Linked DNA regions of Homo sapiens: region 1 is linked to region 2. Evidence: promoter capture Hi-C in 16 types of primary human blood cells and fetal thymus (Javierre and others, 2016). All regions are on one chromosome and are shown on one strand. The core of a region is centred on a gene start or on the middle of the fragment in contact, and the rest is flanking DNA. Distances in the headings are between cores, read along the strand shown.

Region 1 (5,611 bases), core at 350-2,849, 260 kb before region 2:
TGTACGATTTAATAAGTTTTGACACATATCCATTGGCCCCCCCCAAAATATCCTCATGACCCTTGTCAGTCCTTCCTCCTGACACTTCTCACCCCCATCCCCGGGCAGCCACTGACTTGCTTTTTGTCACTATAGAATAGTGAGCATTTTCTAGAGTAAGTGGAATCACACCATATATACTATATGTACTCCTTTTGTTTGACTTTTTCCACTGAGCATAATAATTTTGAGGTTCACCCATGTTGTGTGAATCAGTAGCTCATATCTTTTTATTGAGAAGTCATATTCCATTGTATAGATATGCTACAGTTAGTTTATCCATTCACCTGTTGATAGATATTTTGTTTATTCCCAACTTTTGCCTATTGCAGATAAAGCTTTATGAATGATCAGGTATAAGACATTTATGAACACATGATTTCTTTTCTCTTAGGAATATACCTAGGAGTGGAATGCCTGAGTCATATTATGGGTGTGTAAGATTACTTTTTAAGAAACTGGCCAATTGTTTTCTAAAGTCATTGCACCACTTTTTTTTTTTTTTTGAGATGCAGTTTTGCTCTTGTTGCCCAGGCTGGAGTGTACTGGTGTGATCTCAGCTCACTGCAACCTCCGCCTCCTGGGTTCAAGCAATTCTCCTGCCTCAGTCTCCTGAGAAACTGGGATTATAGGCGCCTGCCACCACACCTGGCTAATTTTTTTTTTTTGTATTTTTAGTGGAGACAGCATTTCGCCATGTTGGCCAGGCTGGTCTTGAACTCCTGGCCTCAGGTGATCTGCCTGTCTTGGCCTCCCAAAGTGCTGGGATTACAGGCGTGAGCCACTGAGCCCGGCCAATTGCACCATTTTATATACCACCAGTCCCTCCACATCTTCACCAACACTCAGTGTGTTCAGTGTATTTAATTTTAGCCATTCTAATAATCCTTTTTAGTGCTGCATAATATTTCCATGATATGAGTATACCAATATGAGTATCCCTACTGATGCACTTTTACCTCTCTTCCTATGTTTTTGCCTCTAGAAACAATTCTGCAAAACCAGACTATACTAACTGGAGCTTTTATTGCCATGAGACGGAGTCTTTGGAATAGGGTTGATGCATTAAAGTGTATAAATATTTTAAAATAAAATAAATCCTATTGAGAGCTTTCTTAAAAGGCTGTAATAATTTACATTTACCAGCAATGCATTAAAGCATCTTTTGCGTTTCTTCCCAACCTCACCACTATTTTTTTTTTTTTTTTTTTTTTTGAGATGGAGTTTTGCTCTTGTTGCCCAGGCTGGAGTGCAATGGCGCGATCTTGGCTCACTGCAACCTCCGCCTCCCGGATTCAAGCGATTCTCCTGCCTCAGCCTCCGGAGTAGCTGGGATTACAGGCATGTGCCACCACACCCGGCCTTTTGTATTTTTAGTCGAGATGGGGTTTCTCCATGTTGGTCAGGCTGATCTCGACCTCCAGACCTCAGCTCACCCCTAATTTTTGTCAATAGTATATAACTTTTTACAATGCTTTCAAGTTGTTTTGATTTTCATTTCCTTCATTATGAAGTGAATTTTTTTCACATGTGTATTGGCCATTGATTGTTCATCTGTGAACAGTCTAAGGATGTTGCACATTTTTATTTTTGTGAGTTTTTTTGGTAACATAGATTTTAAAATTTCATCTTAATTTTTTTTTTTTTCATTAGAGATGAGGTCTCACTCTGTTACCCAAGCTGGATTTCAGTGGTGCAATCAGATCTCACTGCAGCCTACAACTCCTGGGCTCAAGAGAAAAATTTATTTTTTTATCTTTAAATTTGTTTATGGCATCTTTGCCATATTAAACACTTTAAAGCCATCTTTTCTTTTATAACTTCTGGCTTCATGTCTTGGTTAAGAAAGTACATTCAACTCTTGGCTTGTACATATAATCTCCTGTATTTTGTCTTAAGATTTTCATGTTATTTTTTTACAGACACAAATTCAATCCTTCTTGGATTTTATTTTATTTTTTATTTTTTTAGATGGAGTCTTGCTCTGTTGCCAGGCTGGAGTGCAGTGGTGCGATCTCGGCTCACTACAACCTCCGTCTCCCGGGATAAAGCGATTCTCCTGTCTCAGCCTCCCAAGTAGCTGGGACTACAGGCGGGCACCACCACGGTCAGCTAATTTTTGTGTTTTTAGTATAGATGGGGTTTCACCATGTTGGTCAGGATGGTCTCGATCTCTTGACTTCGTGATCCACCTGTCTCAGCCTCCCAAAGTGTTGGGATTACAGTGTGAGTCACTGTGCCCGGCCTCTTGGATTTTTATGTAGTGTGAGGTAGCAGCCCAGCTTTACTTTCTTCTAATTGGAAAGCTGTTTTTTCCTCACCACTTAACTAAATAACCAATTTTCCTCTGCTTTTTCATACATTTATTCCCATTATTAACTAGGATTCATTATGTACTATGTATATTGTCCTACTGATTTATTTGTGTGTTTTATGCCGATGCCAGACTAACTTATGTTCAGGCATTTTTTTTCCGCACAAGGGAGCCTGAAGAAAGCATATCTAATTCCACACACAAAAACAACAGATTTCAATTGGAATTTAATTATGTATATATCCATTTTGGAAGAATGTATATCTTCATAGTGGTAAGTATTTTCATACCAGAACATGGTCTGTTTTTCTGTTTGTTCAGGTCTTGTTTCATGTTTTTCAATATGGTTGAGCTATATTTATAGTTAAGTATATCATGAATATATATATATAAGAGTATATGTACAGCATAAAGCTCAATAAAGCCATACCCAGTTTAAGGAGTAGAGCATTGCCCTTCGAAGCTTCCCATCCCACCTCCATGAGTTCCTCTCCCTGTCGCTAGGGTATTATTACTATCCTCTCTTTTGTGTTAATCATTCACTTTCTTTCTTTTTCTTTTTTTTGAGATAGGGTGTTGCTCCATTGCCTAGGCTGGAGTGCAGTGGTGCAATCATAGCTCACTGCAGCCTTGACCTCCTGGGCTCAAACGATCCTCCCACTTTGGACTTTTGTGTAGCAAGATCACCTTGTGCACCACCTCACCTGGCCAATTTTTTTTTTTTTTTTGTAGAGATAGGGCCTCACTGTTTTGCCCAGGCTGGTCTCGAACTCCTGTCCTCAGGAATCCTTCTGCTCTGGCCTCCCAAAGAGTTTGGATTACAGGCGTGAGTCACCGCGCCCAGCCTTTCCTTGCTTTTCTTTATAGTTTTGTATCACCTATGTCTGTTGCTCTAAACAATATATATTTTTAGTTTTTTTCCACGACTAACCTTGTCAAAAATGGAATCAGATTCTGTATTCTTCTGGGAAAAGAACGGTTCTTCTTTGATTAAACATTATGTATATGATATTTATTCATGTTGATGTAGGTAATTGTGTTTTGTTCATTTTTCCTGCTGAATATCATTCCACTGTGTGGATATTCTATAATTTGCTTATCCAATGCAGTATTGATGAATATTTGGGTTGTTTGTAGCTTTTTACTATCATGAGTCTTCTTACAAAATATCCTTATGCATTCATGTAAGTTTTTCTTTAAGGCAATGGTCTTCAAACTTTTTTACTTCTGTATTCACTAAAGGGATTTTTAAAAATTTAGGTCTTCTCTTGATTTTAAGCTGAACTTCTAAAATTTTTTCATCATGAATATTTGCAAAGGATGTAATTTCTAGCACATTGTAGATATTAACATTTTTAAATGAAATTACTTCAGTGCAAAAATTGAGAAGCCTTGTTCATATAAACGAATCAATAGAAATATAATCAATTCTGTTATGCTAATGCCACTCAATTCTTTGTACTCCTTCCAAAATAAATGCCAAAACCGCATAGTGGTTTCTCATTAATTTTTAATTTCTATTGATGGATATATCTGTCTTCCTTTTTGTTGAAAACAAAATAGTGGAGACTGCTTGACTTGCAGAAGGATTTAATGGCCAGTCATTAGAATCACTTGATTTCTCAATGTCTGGGAAGTATACCAAAAAAGCTTTATCAAGACATACCAAATGACTATAAATTGTATGTCTTACTCTTTCACTGAAAGGTTGAAAAGTATCCCATTTAACCCATTATATCTAAAATATTTGGAAAAATTGAAATATTATGAACTTTGATAAACCTCTGTCAATCTATTTAAAAAAACTTTTTAAGTGGAAAATTCTAAATACATAGAAGTAGAAAAAATAGCGTACTGAACTCAACGTATCTATCATTAGGCATCAACAGTTATACATGGGCAATCTTGTTTCATCTAAACCCCTATCCTTTCCACTCCTAGTTTTTATTATTGTTTTTATTTTTTGAAATAGGGTCTCACTCTGTTACCCAGGTTACGATGCAGTGGCATGATCACAGCTCACTGCGGCCTTGACCCCCGGGCTCAATGGATCCTCCTACTTCAGCCTCCTGAGTAGCTGGGACTACTGGTGCATGCTACTATCTTCCGCTAATGTTTTAAAAAATATTTTGTAGAGATAGGTCTGTGTTGCCCAGGCTGGTATTAACTCCCAGGCTCAAGCCATCCTCCTGCCTTGGCCTCCCAAAATGTGGAGATTAAAGGTGTGAGCCACCATACTCGGCCCCTTTTGACGTTTCTGACAAACTTCCCAAGATTAATTTCTAAATTAAGCCTTTTTTATTGATCTTGAACTAACTTTGGGACTTTTGAGATGGGCTCCTGGAAAATGTGAAAGAATTTCTCTCTCACCTTGTAAAAGAGGGACATTAAACTAATTGGCTTATTTGATATGTTAAATTATGTGGGAAGCACTGTCAAGTAAAAGTGACGTTTAGCTTTCTTTATATTTATATGGGCACATGTTACTAATAAGAGTGTTTCAGAAATAAAATTCTTTAAAATTTGTCAATACCCTTAGCTATTCATCATATGTCTGATATAATGTTATCAATCAGAATTCTACATCTTATTTTACAATGTTGTATGTCACAGAAATAACCAAATTTCCTCATCAATTAGATTGTAAGAAACTCTCATTAGATATTTAAATGTGACTACTTAAAAATCTTTTATAATTTACATGTTATTTTACTGTGATATTTTCCTAAAAGCTTTTGCAAGCCACTATGGTCAAAATTTGTCTTCAAAGAGATCATGGAAAAGACTCCAACAAGTACAGGTTTTTGATAACTTTAAGATCCCACCATTGGCCTGGGTAAGAATTTCCAGAACTCTAATGAAGAAACTGACTGGTTTGTAAAACTGTTAACCCGATGTTGGGCAAAACAAAAATTAATTGGATGGGACTAAATGAACTGATGAAAAAAAATGATGCTTTAAAAAATTACCTTTTTTCAAAACATTGCTCGTTCTTTAATATTTTGTTTTCCAGATCTGAGGAAATGTTTTCTCTTTTATCCTACGCTATCTGTAGTTGACCACAATCTGGTAGATTATGCATTTGTAAACAGAAATAAAGCATTTGATTTTCTCCCTACCTAATCCCTCCAGAATTTGAAAATGATGAGTGAGTATTCTTACATTCATGACCATAGTTGTTTGTATAGGTCCAATAAGAATCTATCTGTTTGTAACAGGACACAATGGAAAACATTGGTTACATTACCAAAGCTTTGG
Region 2 (6,034 bases), core at 2,751-5,250:
AATTCCTCATATCATACAAATTCCAAATAGATCAGAAATTTGAATGCAAAAACTATCCCATATAAATAATAAGAGAAACACGGGTAAATTTTTTGTAACCTGGGAGTGGGGAGGATGTTAATAACTAAGATTTAAAATAGTATAAGGAAAAGACTGATAAGTTTGATTACACAAAAATCCAAAAAATTATGTAAGGCATACAACACCATAGGCAAATTAAAACACAAATATCAAACTAGGAAAACATTTTTTCCGATTTATCTCAAAGAGGGCTACTTTTCCTACTGTATGAAGAATAGCTAAAAGTAAAGAAACAAAAGACCAATGACTTGATAGAAAATCGGGCAAGATATGAACCCACGGCCAAAGAAAAAAATATATAAATTATCCTTGAATACATAAAAAGATATCCAAGTTCATTCACAATAGAGAAAAATAATTAAAAACATAGAAAAAATAAAAAATTCTCAGAGATCACTATTTCTCTACTATAGGTATGGCAAAAATCCATTTCCCAGCATAATCTGGTGGTAAAGGTATGGGGAAAACAGATAATTTCTTGCATGACTAGTGTGAAGGGGAAAACAACCTAACACCTATAGAGGAGAAGGTGGCAATACCTTGAAAAATTACACATGCATTTACTCTTTGATTATCAATCCCGATTTTAGGATTTATCCCAGAGCTGCACTGACAAAAATACAGAAAGGAATGATGCCCATCAGTGGGGACCAGTTGAATAAACTAAGGAATATTCATACAGAAAAGTACAATCCAACTGCAAAAAGGAATGAGAAATATATCTATATACCAGTATGAAGAGATCTCTGTGATATACTGCTAAGTGAAAAAAAGCCAAGTGAAGAAAATAATGTATAGTTTACTATCATTTATATAAGAAGAAGGAATATTAGTTTTATATATATAAATAATTTTTATGTGCATGTGAAAAAGCAATGGCAGAACCATTTGAAAACTAAACAAAAGAATTATTTATATGAAGATGAGAGAAACAAGGTACAAGGGACAGGAACAGAAAATGGTCATTAGACTTCTTTGAATATCCTTTGTTTTTGCAAATTTGATCTTGAGAACATTTAAATAGTTTACATAATTATACAATAAAAATTATATTTTAAAACACCAGTAAAAGTTAAAAGAAACGGAACAAATAAACCTAACTGTATCTTGTGTCAAGGATGAACCACACAAAGATTTGTCCTGAAAGGCTTGAAAATGTAGTATTAATAATTTCACTGTGTGTGTGTGTGTATGTGTGTGTGTGTGTACTGTTTTGAAGTCCATCTAAAAGGCATAAACCATGGTCAGCCAAGTAGCAGTGAGTGCACTTAATGCCCAGATTGTGATCTTCAAATGGTATTTCCCACAAAAGAAATTAGGACTACTAGGAAAAAGTACTGATTCCAGGTCTGGGCCAGTAAACATACAAGTTTAGCCTACAACATCTTTCATACTAGAAAGTAGGGATGCTATAAAAAATTACTTAGTTTTATCAGAAGGGCTTGGAAGCTACCTTAAAGAGGTTCCAACTGGACAAAGATGGAATAATTTGAGCATCATTAATAAAGATTATTCCAATGGATTAAAATATACCAAATATATTGAAATCCAGTAGTTGATAACAACACCATCTTCCTGAAAGAAGTTAATTGCTCCCTTTGGAGTATGCTAAGAAAGTGACTCATCATTCTGAACATTGACAACTAAAGGGAAAGAAGCATTTATTTTGTCTTTCATACATCTCATCTTTTAACTATATCTCACAAAAATGAAAGAATCACTGAATGAAAGTTCCTTTGTGTATGACTATTCCATCTAATAAATAAATAAAGAATGATAGAATATCATCTTTTGGTAACTTTTAATGAAACAAATTCATTCTAGACAATCATTAACATCTGCTAACATCACAAAAAGAGAGGCATTCAAACATATGTGCCTTCTAATAGAAGTTTAGGATAGCATCTATGAAGTATTCCCACTAAAAAAACAAAGTCAAACTTTAATCTGATCCAACCTCCCCATTCATATAAATTCACACAAAACACTGGAGCTAGAAGCGAATGTTAAATGACATTGTTAGGATGCAATCAGCAGTATGAATACTGCCCAGTTCTGTTGGACAAAAGACCTTCCCTTCCTTAAACAAAGAAATTTAACACAAAGAAACAAGGAAGGTGAAAACCTACACATTAAGTGAAACATAAGAGATGTCAAACAATTGTAATGTATGAATTTTACTTAGATCCTACCTCAAACAATTTTAAAAATTATGAGATCTTCAGGGAAATCTGAATACAACTGGTAGTATTAAAATTTATAGTTGCCTTTTGAAGGCTGTTTATGAAATTGTGGAAATGTTTTTAAATGGTCTTTATCTTTCAGAGACACATACTCAAATATTTACTGATAAAATGATGTAATGTCTGACATTTGCTTCAAAATAATCTGTGATAGAGTTGAGAATAGGAGCAGATATTTGAACAAGACTGGCATAAATTGATAACTGTGAGATTTTAATATAGGTACATGGAAGTTCCTTATATTGTTTTTACCTTTGAATAAGTATAAATTTTTCACAAATAAAAAAATTAACCCATGTATAGTGTAACCACTATCGAGCAGAGACTGCATATCAGAACACCCTGATAAAACATGTTTTGTATATCTCGTTTATTCTTCAAAAATACTCTACAGTGAAACTAATTTTATTATTCTAATTTTTTAAATGAGGAAGCTGGTGTGGCTCAAAAATTCTGGGAAACATGCCCCTGGTCACTGTGCTAAGAGGTATTGGGCAGAGAAGACATTCGATTCAAAGTCTGTCTGAATCTACCATGCTCACTCTTAACCGTGCACTCTACTGCCTGTTCTTGGCTACTCTCAGGCCATGATTCTAAATTTTCATTGACATGGCACAGAGATAGACCAGTGGAGGGCAAAGGAGATGATCCACGCTTTCTGCAAAAAGGTGAGCTGGGAGCCAGCCTGTTATAAGGGAACCGTGAGGAGGGCTCCGCATTTCTCGTGGACTTTTCCATCTCTCTCATATTGAGAAGCCAAACGTGAGAGAGATGGTCAGAAATATCACTTTAAAACTTTCTCAAGTTTTAAAACTTTCTCAAGTGGTTCCTGGAAGATCCAGAGGACCTCCAGCTAAGAGAAAGGCTGAGAAATGACAAAAGCATTTACAACAGAGGTGAACAGTTCTAAACTGTGGCCAGACCCACCGGTTCTAGAAAATTTCGTAGCTCCTTGAGATCCAGTTCCCTCTGCTATAAAAAAGGAAAATAAAACCAATCTTGCAGGGTTGTCCTTAGGCTTTCATAGAGTGATTTCTATAAAGGTCTTTTATGGCAACTCTTTTTGTACTGAATGGCGCAGCAGCCCCACATGTTACACTGTTAGGGACACAGCTTGTCTCTGCTTAATGCTGGAAAAAGTCAGCAGACTGAATTCTAGTGTTCCTCCGCCATGAGTGATCTGGGTACCCCTTGGAGAATCATCAAAATCTCTGGGATTGGGATTCTGATTCTTTTTCTGTAAGAAGAGGGACTTAGACAGGTGGACTCTAAATTGCCTGTCACCTTTACAAATCTGTCTTAGGAGCCCTTAATTTCTTATGAAGGTTATCAGGCAACACTCTGTGTCTATCACAACAGCCAGTGAGTGGAGGGTGCACTATGCAGCCATGTGTGTCCTGTTACATATGAGATGCATGGGCTCCATGCAAACAAATCTCCTCACTCCCCTTCTACTCACCCCTCCCACAGCACCTTCTATGCAGTGCTGCTTAGCACAGTGCCTTGTCCCTCCTAAGGGCAGAGTCCACTCCAGCCACACACCCTGTCCCCACTGCCCTTCGCAGCCCAATAGCACCAGACCCTCTTCTCAGCCAGGCTCACCTTCTCTTGAACAAGTTGAATTTTCAGGTTTTCTCCAAGGAGGCTGCTTGAGCTGTTGCTTTTGCTTTTACTGTGAGTTAAAAGTGTCTGTACCGCCACCAAAACCTCTCAGTCAGGAAGCTCAGGCTGGGTGGAGCCACACACACAAAAATGTTTGTCTTTAAAGAAACAGAAATACGGCTCCATAATCTGGTGATTGCTTCAGTTTTGCCCGGTTGAAACGTTTTGCCCATGGGCCTGCTATAAACACCATTTCCAAAGCTACATTTTTCGCTTCAGGTTATAGTGATGGATGCAAAAGAGCCTTATTAAATGACCCAAATATTGCCTAGAAAACAAGGCACAGGACCTGATTGTCTTCCCAGGGTGGAGTGGGAGGCTGAGGGGTGATTTGGGGAAGAAGAGAGACAGGCATATACCTTGCCATTTCCAAGCGTAGAGCTGGGGGTTCTTAGTGATTGTATAATATGGGTTTTTTATTATAGTCTTTCAGGAAGGCCTCAAGTTACTCATTCAAAAGTTAACAGCACTGAGGCTCAAAGGCAGAGTCTAAATCATTAGGAACCAAGGGAAAAAAAGGAAGGTGACGCCTGGAAAAATAATCTGCCCATGAACACATAGTTTCTCTAGTTGCTTTTCGTATAATTCTTCCAAGTTTGAAAATATGCATGACCTAACAAGTAAAGATGCACCCAAGGAATAGATCCTACATCCCTTCCCCACCTTCCTCTCTACCCCACATCTTCCTACCCCAGTCTCAGGCAGAGACAGATTTTCCAGAATTTACCCAGTGGATGGTTCCAATCTGCTCTGGAGGTTTCTTGAGGTGAGAGGCAGGTTCCCAAAGCTCTCACGGTTGACCAGATATTCCAGTTGGCTACGTAAGAATACTATGTTTAGAGTTCCAAGCCCACAGCCCCTGTCGCGGCCTTGCCACCCTCCAGCGCCCCACGCCAGGAGTGGGCCTAGAGCGCTCGCCTTGCCCCTCTGTGATCCGGGCTCCGGCACCCGCCCAGGTCCGCACCACTGGCAGCCTGTAGGGAGTCGCTGGCCGTCGTCGCCGCTAAGTAGGATATATCTGCATCTTCAAAGGAAGATAAAACAAAAGCCTTCTTTGGAATATTTGGATTTTTGTCACTTTCTGTGAGCTTTAGTTCAAGAACACAAGTTGAATCACTCAAACATGAAAAACAAGTCTGAAACCAGTATCCATCAATACTTGGTCGAAGAGCCAACCCTTTCCTGGTCGCCTCCATCCACTAGAGCCAGTGAAGTAGTATGTTCCGCCAACGTTTCTCACTACGAGCTCCAAGTAGAAATAGGAAGAGGATTTGACAAGTTGACTTCTGTCCATCTAGCACGGCATACTCCTACGGGAACGCTGGTAACTACAAAAATTACAAATCTGGAAAACGGCAATAAAGAACGCCTGAAAGTTTTACAGAAAGCCATGATTCTATCCCACTTTTTCCGGCATCCCAATATTACAACTTATTGGACAGTTTTCACTGTTGGCAGCTGGCTTTGGGTTATTTCTCCATTTATGGCCTATGGTTCAGCAAGACAACTCTTGAGGACCTATTTTCCTGAAGGAATGAGTAAAACTTTAATAAGAAACATTCTCTTTGGAGCAGTGAGAGGATTGAACTATCTCTACCAATATGGCTGTATTCACAGGAGAATTAAAGCCAGCCATATCCTCATTTCTGGTGATGGCCTAGTGACCCTCTCTGGCCTGTCCCATCTGCATAGTTTGGTTAAGCATGGACAGAGGCATAGGGCTGTGTATGATTTCCCACAGTTCAGCACATTAGTGCAGCCATGGCTGAGTCCAGAACTACTGAGACAGGATTTACATGGGTATAATGTGAAGTCAGATATTTACAGTGTTGGGATTACAACATGTGAATTAGCCAGTGGGCAGGTGCCTTTCCAGGACGTGCATAGAACTCAGATGCTGTTAACAGAAACTGAAAGGTCCCCCTTATAGCCCATTGGATATCAGTATTTTCCCTCAATCAGAATCCAAAATGAAAAATTCCCGGTCAGGTGTAGACTCTGGGATTGGAGCAAGTGTGCTTGTCTCCAGTGGAACTCACACAGTAAAT

The links. The method cuts DNA at HindIII sites, captures the fragments that hold promoters and counts their contacts. A CHiCAGO score of 5 or more calls a contact.
Region 1: a contact is called between a fragment that was not itself captured here and the fragment with the promoter of GIMAP7 in region 2, in 5 of 17 cell types (total CD4 T cells, naive CD4 T cells, naive CD8 T cells and 2 more). The highest score is 10.4, in total CD4 T cells.

Annotation. Positions count from the first base shown.
Region 1 is chr7:150,767,323-150,772,933 of GRCh38, reverse strand. The region is part of intron 2 of LOC105375566 (a long non-coding RNA gene); the gene reads left to right. Among named protein-coding and RNA genes, the nearest start is that of TMEM176B, 30 kb to the left of the region's middle. The HindIII fragment of the contact is 2,439 bases long and covers 380-2,818 here.
Region 2 is chr7:150,512,838-150,518,871 of GRCh38, reverse strand. It overlaps GIMAP7 (GTPase, IMAP family member 7), which reads right to left and starts at 4,000. Exons shown (of 2, transcript NM_153236.4): 1 at 3,927-4,000. It also overlaps the pseudogene STRADBP1. RefSeq lists enhancers at 3,849-4,108, 4,119-4,278. The HindIII fragment of the contact is 12,674 bases long and covers 1-6,034 here.